Linked DNA regions of Homo sapiens: regions 1 and 3 are each linked to region 2. Evidence: promoter capture Hi-C in 16 types of primary human blood cells and fetal thymus (Javierre and others, 2016). All regions are on one chromosome and are shown on one strand. The core of a region is centred on a gene start or on the middle of the fragment in contact, and the rest is flanking DNA. Distances in the headings are between cores, read along the strand shown.

The links. Contacts are between HindIII fragments. The CHiCAGO score rates a contact against its expected background, and 5 or more counts as called.
Region 1: a fragment that was not itself captured here is called in contact with the fragment with the promoter of GRIN3A in region 2 in 1 of 17 cell types (endothelial precursors); the score reaches 7.1 in endothelial precursors.
Region 3: a fragment that was not itself captured here is called in contact with the fragment with the promoter of GRIN3A in region 2 in 4 of 17 cell types (naive CD8 T cells, M2 macrophages, activated CD4 T cells and 1 more); the score reaches 7.2 in naive CD8 T cells.

The regions. Positions count from the first base shown.
Region 1 is chr9:104,391,065-104,393,764 of GRCh38, forward strand. No RefSeq gene overlaps it. Among named protein-coding and RNA genes, the nearest start is that of OR13F1, 110 kb to the right of the region's middle. The HindIII fragment of the contact is 1,162 bases long and covers 711-1,872 here.
Region 2 is chr9:101,737,290-101,739,989 of GRCh38, forward strand. GRIN3A (glutamate ionotropic receptor NMDA type subunit 3A) reads right to left here and starts at 1,358. Exons shown (of 9, transcript NM_133445.3): 1 at 1-1,358. The coding sequence starts at 690. RefSeq lists enhancers at 667-1,191, 1,192-1,715. The HindIII fragment of the contact is 5,247 bases long and covers 1-2,391 here.
Region 3 is chr9:104,671,068-104,673,767 of GRCh38, forward strand. The region is part of intron 2 of LOC107987105 (a long non-coding RNA gene); the gene reads right to left. Among named protein-coding and RNA genes, the nearest start is that of OR13D1, 22 kb to the right of the region's middle. The HindIII fragment of the contact is 414 bases long and covers 1,086-1,499 here.

The sequences.
Region 1 (2,700 bases), core at 42-2,541, 2.7 Mb after region 2:
TTTGTGAAGATATTTATCATTCTATAGGAACTCATCAAGGAAAAGCTAGAACGATTGCTGGCAGTATCTGAGTCACTGAGGTAGAATAGAAAGAGTATAGAATTTACAATCAGAAGAGAATCCACCCAGCTGCAGTCTTTGTGTAACTTAGTTATAAACTACCTGTTTAGAACTTTGAGTCTTAGGTTCCTTAACATAATATCTATAATGTTGATAATTATAATAGTATACGCCATGACATTGTTAAAGGTATCAGATAAACAGATGTGTATAAAATCATCTGAAAAATAAAAATAGAAAACTAATGTTACTTATTATTTCATGAAATTTAAAGTGTCACATTTCTTTATATTAATAAAGTACCATAAAAATAAAATATTTGAAAGCTCAGAAATTGGGGGATTTTCTGATTCTGAGTAGAGTTTGCATACATTTGAGAATATTCTAAAAATGCACTGGGTTTGGTCAAGACACACAGGTGGTCAGTATACATAAGTGAAGTGGAGAGTATCTGAACTGGTTAGGTGCTGGAGGCAAGGATTTATACCTAGGATGTTCTGCCATTGCCAGGTAATGACATCAGCATATGAAGAAAGGCCTTATTCTAATATGATATTTACTGTATCAAAGCAGTTGATAGAAGTAATGTCTTTCTCGTTTTGCTACTTTAATGTGGAAGATTTGCATGTCAGGCTCTCTGTTAGACCCTAAGCTTCTAAAAGTCCAAGTGAGGCCTTACAGGGTGCTTGCCAATTAAGAAGTTAAGATCAGACAGATCTGGTTTCAAATATAAGCTCTGACTCTTCTTAATTTGAGACATGCTGTTTGAACTCTTTTAGCCTCAATCTGTAAAATGGAGATGGTAATAGCCTCTAAATCAGGGTTGCTGTGAAGATTAAATGAAAACATCTGTAAAGCCTGAAACACAGTTAATACTCAATAAATGCAGCCCTTATTGTTTTCAGCACATTGAATTGTTCATGATAATTTATTTGCCTAGCTCCCTAATTAGATTAAACATTTGAAGGCAGAGGTCATGTCCTATACCATCTCCCATTTCATTCTATATTTTCCCCAGTAGACTAATGTTTCTTAGTGTGGTAGTCTAGACCACTGAGATTCTTCAGCTTATCCAAAAAGAGAACCCCTTTGCCCTGCCTAGATTCTGAACAATGTCAAAAATAAAACAATAAAATTGAAGGCCAAAATATTACCAGTGCTACTGATAAAGCTAAGTACAAAAATGACCTTGCGGAAGAGCCAAAGTCACCTTCAAAGACAACTCCTGAACTGGAAAAGTTTACCTACCCAATGTCAGGCAGCACTGGACTAGGGCTGTGGGGAGGCCTGACCAAGTCAGATAAGAGCACAAGGCCAGTTCAGGCTGCCCTCGGGCAGTCTCATTTCCAACCCCGGCCAAGAAAGCTGTGCTAGAGGTGGCCTAGATTTCCAGAGTTTGGGGGCACAATGTGAGGCCAGATATAGATCCTGTAGAAGACAACTGAACTTGATTGTTTTAAAGGATTTCCTATCAAGAGCACCATCTGAAGTGGTGAGTAAACTCTCCAGAGAAAGTCCTGGGATGCCTCTCAGAACCCAAGAACCAAACAGGAAATAATGTGTATTTAGCCAGGGGACACCTCATGTACTCCAGACAAACCTTTCCTGTCCCTTACCTCTCTTTGCTCCCCGTTCCAACACTAGAGAATTCATTCCAACGCTGGAAAAGGAGGACAAGAAGAAAAAGAGAAAATAGGTGAGGGAACCAATATCATCTGCATTTTCCCATTCCAGAATTTTCAGTCTGAAGAAGGGCCAAGCTAGGAAGTGGAAGAAACTTTAAAGTAAATGAAACATTGAAGCCTTAATATAAGCTTGGATTTTTCAGACTGGGAAATAAAACTATTTGTTACTATCTAAAAGATACAGAACATGCTGAGATTTCATCCAGGGATTAGGAAAAATGTTTCTAGAGGATAGGTTGGAAAGGACAATTAACCATAGAGACTGACTTTTTTTTCATAAACAAAACTTAACTATAGAGACCGATTTTTTTAATGTATTTATTCATCATGAGAATTTATATAGAAGTTCTGAAATGGAAAGTCTCTTTTTCTTTCTGAGTTGTGATAGTTAAGAACTGTATGCACAGAGTGGCTCAAGGCTATTTTTCCTGAGAATAAAGCTAAATCAGGAAAAAGCAGAACCAAGAGACTGAAAAGAGGGAGAGGGAGAGAGACAGAAAGAGAGAGAGAGATTTATTATTGATAACATTTTCTGATTTCTAATTCAGACAGGCTTAATGCAAAGTCTCCTCTAGGACTGCAGTTTGTTTAAGACAATGCATTCTTTTTTTTCTAATTAAGCAAGTTATAAGATTGTTTTCTTTCAATTTGCATCAGAAAGAGTTCTCATTAATAAAGCATAATTATTTAGAAGAAATTAAAACTACATGTACTACACATGCTTCACTTCACAATTAAATAAAATCACTGATATTTGAGTAACTTCTTAGCCTTTGTGTTATTCGTATACAACAATGGATAACATGCACTGAACATTTATTATGTATCAAGCACCTTTATATGAACTAACTGAATTCCTATAATGACCTATGAAGTTTTTACTATCTGGTAGGCTCTTTGGCTTATCAATGCAGAAACTGAGAGGTTAAGGAAGTTGTCCACAGCCTCACAGCAA
Region 2 (2,700 bases), core at 108-2,607:
CCGTGGAAACTCGTGGCGCACGATGCTGATCACTGGAATGTGCAGGACTAAGCTGACCAAGTCGAGCTCCATCATTTCGCCCTGGCTCTGGGGGAAGGCGAGCAGCGCCGACACCCCTTGCACCACCACGGTATGGCACACACTTTGCAGGAAGGAGAAAGGGTCACTGCTCCATGGCGAACTAGGGGAGGAGAAGGGCAAAAGTGGCAGATCGCCCAGGCCTGCCTCGATGGCCATCACTACTTCCAAAGACAGGTTGTAGGGTAGCAGCCCTTCCACGCGGTTCAGGTTGTCCACGGCAAATAGGAGGGCGTCCCGTGGCCACAGGGCCTCCGCCCTGGCGCCCTCCCCGGGCTTACGGGAGCCCGGCGGCCCCCGGCCATGCAGGGTGCTCCCCAACCAGCGTGCGCCCGGCGAGGGCGCCGGGGACCGCCTAGTCCCTGGCTCCGGCTCATCCCTCTGGGCTCCTGCTCGGCTGTCGTCCGGAGCGCGGCTGGCCGCGCGGGGGGCGGTGGTCCAGGGCTGCAAGTGCACCGCGCCCACCCTCACCGCGTGCCCGATGCGCTTGAGGATCTGGCAGGGCTGCGGGTGCGAGGAGGAGCTGGGCACCCCGGCCAGCACCAGTGCGCAGGGCGGCGGCAACAGCAGACAGACCCTGCTCAGCAGCCACCACAAACTCAGTCTCCTCATTACTGAGACCCGCAGGGAGAAAGCGCGCCCCCTCCTGCGCCCGGCTCGCCCCTCTGCAGCCGCTGCCTGAGGTCTCCGCCTCCAGGTCCCGCGCGCAGCTTCACTCCACTCGGTGAAGCGGTCCCAGGAGCTGGAGCGGTCTCTAGGCCATGCAAGTTGGAGCGTAGCGCGCCTCCGGCAGTCTCAGATCCCGCTCCCAGGTCCCTCCGCCTGGCATCCTCTGCCCGCCCGGTCACTGCGCTGAGCAGGCAGGCGGGCGGGCCGGCGCCTGTCACCCGCAGCTGGAGCGCCCGTTCCCTGCCCGCCCCATCTGCAGGGCGCCTCGGGCACTGCGTCCGGCCCCGCGAGGCGGCCGGGATGAGAAGCAGCCGGAGTTCCTCGGGGGCAGCAGTGACAGAGGAGCGACGCGCTCTCGCCTGGATTCTTTTCCTTTTCTGCCCAGGCGAGACCCACTTATTTCCTGGGGTCGCGTTGGAGAGGGCTTTCACGCCCGGGGTGCGGAAAAGAAGCCAAATCCACCTTCCTCCACTGTTGGCCACCCTCCTGCAGGCTCCCCCAGCGCCGACTTCATTTTCTCTCTTCTCTCGCTACTTCCTCTCTGCCTTTCTTTCGTTATTTTTCCACCGAGTCGCCACCGCCGCTTGCTTCCTCGGAGGAGCAACGCGACTGGCCAGCAAAGGGTGGCTCTGCTCCGAGCGCCAAAGTTCTCCCCGCCTCAGCCGGCGCCTCCCTGTTGCTGAGCCCTGGCGCCTGCCTGTCGCTTGGCTGCGCTAAACGCCCACTGTTGGTGAGATTCCCGAGTGGCACATCCCGCGCCCCTGGAAAGTCCTCTCCCCTCAAAGGCTGGGCGTCATAGTTTGCAAAATTCCCTAAAACCTAAGAAGGAAAATAGGACTATGAGCCGGTGAGAATTCTGAATTCAGAGTCGCACCTGAGGGATCTGAAATTCGGTGGTTCACTGAAATAGGTTCAAAGAGGCTGTGACTTAACGAGCTTCTGGATGTGTCGCTTTTAAGGTTTTTCTAGCTAAGGGTATTAAAGTAAGAATTATTTACACATTTTTATCTCCTCAGCTTCTTTCTTTCTGGCATGTGAGCCTTTGCATTTTTTTTTTAAAGAATCCCTGTTTTTAGGTTCTCAGAATTAAAACAAAGTGAATTCAAAGCAATTTTTTCAGTTCAAGAAATTAAAGAGTTTCAAAATACTTTTAGAGTTTAAAATGCAGTCAACAGCAGTTCCCAGTTTAGATCAAGAGTCCCCAGATCACAGTTTGTACTAAGTTATTTCATTTGTATGGTAATACAGTGAAGTCAACGTGTTGTGATCTAATCTTTTCCTCCATGATTTGAATAATCTGAAACTAGAAGGTAAGGAAAGAGTTAAGGGCAGGCCTGTGGTTTGCACATATACAGTAGATTAATTTTATTTTATCCCACAGTATCGTTTAGAAGGAGGGTAGGAGAGATCCATGGGGTGGAGCAAGCACTGGGGATCAGCCTTTCTGAGTCTAATACTACTTCATGACCATGACCTTGGCAACTTATTTCACCCGACCTTGCCCTGCTGTTTGGATCTGCTAAATTGTTATGCAAATACAGCTGGCTTTTAGCTCTGGAGGGTTGTTTTGATTCATGAGCTAAAGTTTCCATCATGTTTTAAATCCTGGGAAGAAGAGACTCTAGTTAAGTAAAAATCCCAAGAAGCTTGCAAAGTGAATGCTGTTTTCCCCAGCCCAGATCTTTAAAGGTATCTCAGAACAAATTTACCAGACATTCGGCATCGTTTTTGCAAGACTGGGTTGCTAGAGAAGAAAAGTCTCCCATGAGAAAAAAAGTGAAAATCATAGTAGTGGGCTGAATGAGGAGGGAAAGAAACCCTCCTGAAGCCTGAGAGAACATCCCATGAATGGAGAAAAGCTGCCTCTAGTGTGCTGGAAATTCCCCCTTGATCCACAGGATTCCACTGATTGAGATCTGAATAATAAAAGTGTAGAAGTCTGAGGTCCTTGCA
Region 3 (2,700 bases), core at 43-2,542, 2.9 Mb after region 2:
CAGAGATAATACCAAGTGTTTCCAAAGATGTAAAGCAACTTAAGTTCTTACATACTGCTGGTGGGAGCTTAAATTGGTACCAATACTTTATAGAACTGGAGATGTGTATGAAGCTAAGTATTTGCATACCCTATAACTCAGAATTCTTTCTAAACTATATATTCAATAGAGTGATTATATACAAATTTACACCAAAGATGCATATAAGTATGTTAATAAAAGCACTATTCATACCTTATACAAACACTAGAAAAATATAAATGTTTATCACAAGTAGAATAATGGAATATTTAGCATGGAGAATGAAGAAGGTGCAACTTCAAGCAATATAATATTGGTTAAAGGTATACATAATACATGATATTTGAAACAAATAAAATCAATATGCAGTATTAAAATAGTAATATCTATTAACTCTGAGGAGCTTTGGGGGTGCTTTCTCTGTTTTCCACGATCTGAGATGTGTTCCATTAAAGCATTCAACATGCTATAGCACTTATAAATTGAGCATTTTCAACAAATAACTAGATAGAGAACCCACTAAATACAGAACCCAATGCATTTCCTAAGACTTTAATAGATGTCTTTCATGATTAACAGTATTACTAGTGTTATTATTACATGCTTACAAAGCTGAAATTTCCATGGCTCATTCTCAAAAAGGAAACAGTCAAGCAATCAAAATAATTTTCAACCTCTACTTAACTTTCTTAAAAACCATGGAAGGAATCCAAATATTTCCTACCACAGTAACACTGATAAGAATTACTTTTTCTTTTATCCACTGGCATCATATCCCCCAGCTGTTTTGGAGCATCTCTCCATTTTCCAGCTTTGCTTTTTTTTTTTTTCCTCCCTCTCTCTTGCTTTCATTTCATATGATAATATTCTTTTGATGTAAATATCTTTTATCAGGTAAAATAAAATTTCTCTTCCTTGGACCAGCAGTTCAGGGGATGGTAAGTTTTAAAACAAGGGAAAAAACAGACTTTAAGTATTGAGGCTTATGTCAGTGAGCTAGGATATATATTGATTGTATCTCACATTTTTAATTATTTTGAAGATTATAAAGATCAATAACTGGAAGCTTCTGCTCTTTTGATAGATGGATTTTGAGAAGAGTTGAACATTAATATTCCCAAATCAAGGGTTATTTTTTCTGTCGCACTGTCGCTAAACTCAAATGTCACCTCTTCTGTGAAGCCTTTACTAAACCCTCCAGGAAAAAATCACTTCTCCCACTTCAGTGTTTCTATATGCTTCTTTGTGCCTCTTTTATAATTTGTATTATATATTGTATACTATTTATTCAGAGGGATGTAGTTGAAAGCACACATTTTAGAAATCAGGAAGAGATGGATAAAAATCCCAACTCTGTAGTTCACCAGGAACATAAAATTTAAAGACGTAAAGTGGAGTCCTCAGGAAATAGATGTTCATTATAGTTCTTTGTTGAATGAATGAAGGCATGATTGCTTTTCACACATTGAAGCTAAGCAAGCTTAGTTACCATTACTAGAATAAGCCTTGCCAATCATTGCTGCCTCTGCATCTTTGTTCATGCCATTCTCTCTATCTAAAATCAAAATCTCTCTAATCTATCACAATCCAAGACCCTCCTCAAAAGCCTCCTCTGCCTTGAAGCTCCTACTTATCATTTTAACTAAATTGGATTTGTTTAGCAATCTTTCATAATATTTATAATATGAAGATTTATTTTCTATTTGTGTGTTGTTTGTATATCCTGCTTTATTGAAAGGTCATTAGAAGTAGAGTTACTGGTCTTTGTAATCTCCACAATTAACACGTTGATAATTTGGATCAGTGCAATTTGTGTATTCAACTTTTTTAAACAGGCATTTTTCTTTTGAAGGTTGTGTCTTGTATGATGTTACAGGGAATACACACAACTAGCAATAAGCCCAGTTGAGACAGCATTCTCTTCAACAGTGTTTCAGGCCAGGTGTGGTGGCTCACAACTGTAATCCCAGCACTTTGGGAGGCCAACACAGGCAGATCACTTGATGTCAGGAGTTTGAGCCCAGCCTGGCCAACATGGTGAAACCCCATCTCTACTAAAAACACACAAAAGGCCAGGTGTGGTGGCTCACACCTGTGGTCCCAGCACTTTGGGAGGCCAAGGCAGGTGGATCAGAAGGTCAGGAGATCGAGACCATCCTGGCCAACATGGTGAAACCCTGTCTCTACTAAAAATAAAAAAATTAGCCAGGCGTGGTGGTGGGTGCCTGTAGTCCCAGCTACTTGGGAGGCTGAGGCAGAAAAATCACTTGAACCTGGGAGTCAGAGGTTGCAGTGAGCCGAGATCACACTACTGCACTCCAGCCTGGTGACAGAGCGAAACTCAGTCTCAAACAAACAAACAAAAAGCCCACACAAAAAAATTAGCTGGGTGTGGTGGCGTGCACCTGTAGTCCCAGCTACTAGGGAGGCTGAGGCATAAGAATTGCTTGAAACCAGGAGGCGGAGGTTGCAGTAAGCCAATATTGCCTACTGCATTCCAGCCTGGGTGACACAGTGAGACTCTGTCAATTAAAAAAACAATGTGTTTCAGTGTTGTTTACCTGGTTTTGTCTCACCTGAGTGTAACAACCGCGACTATAATAGGTCAGGCAGAGTCTATCTAACTGAATTAAACACAGATAAGAATCCCAGAGCTACTTTCTTAAGGTCATTATTTAA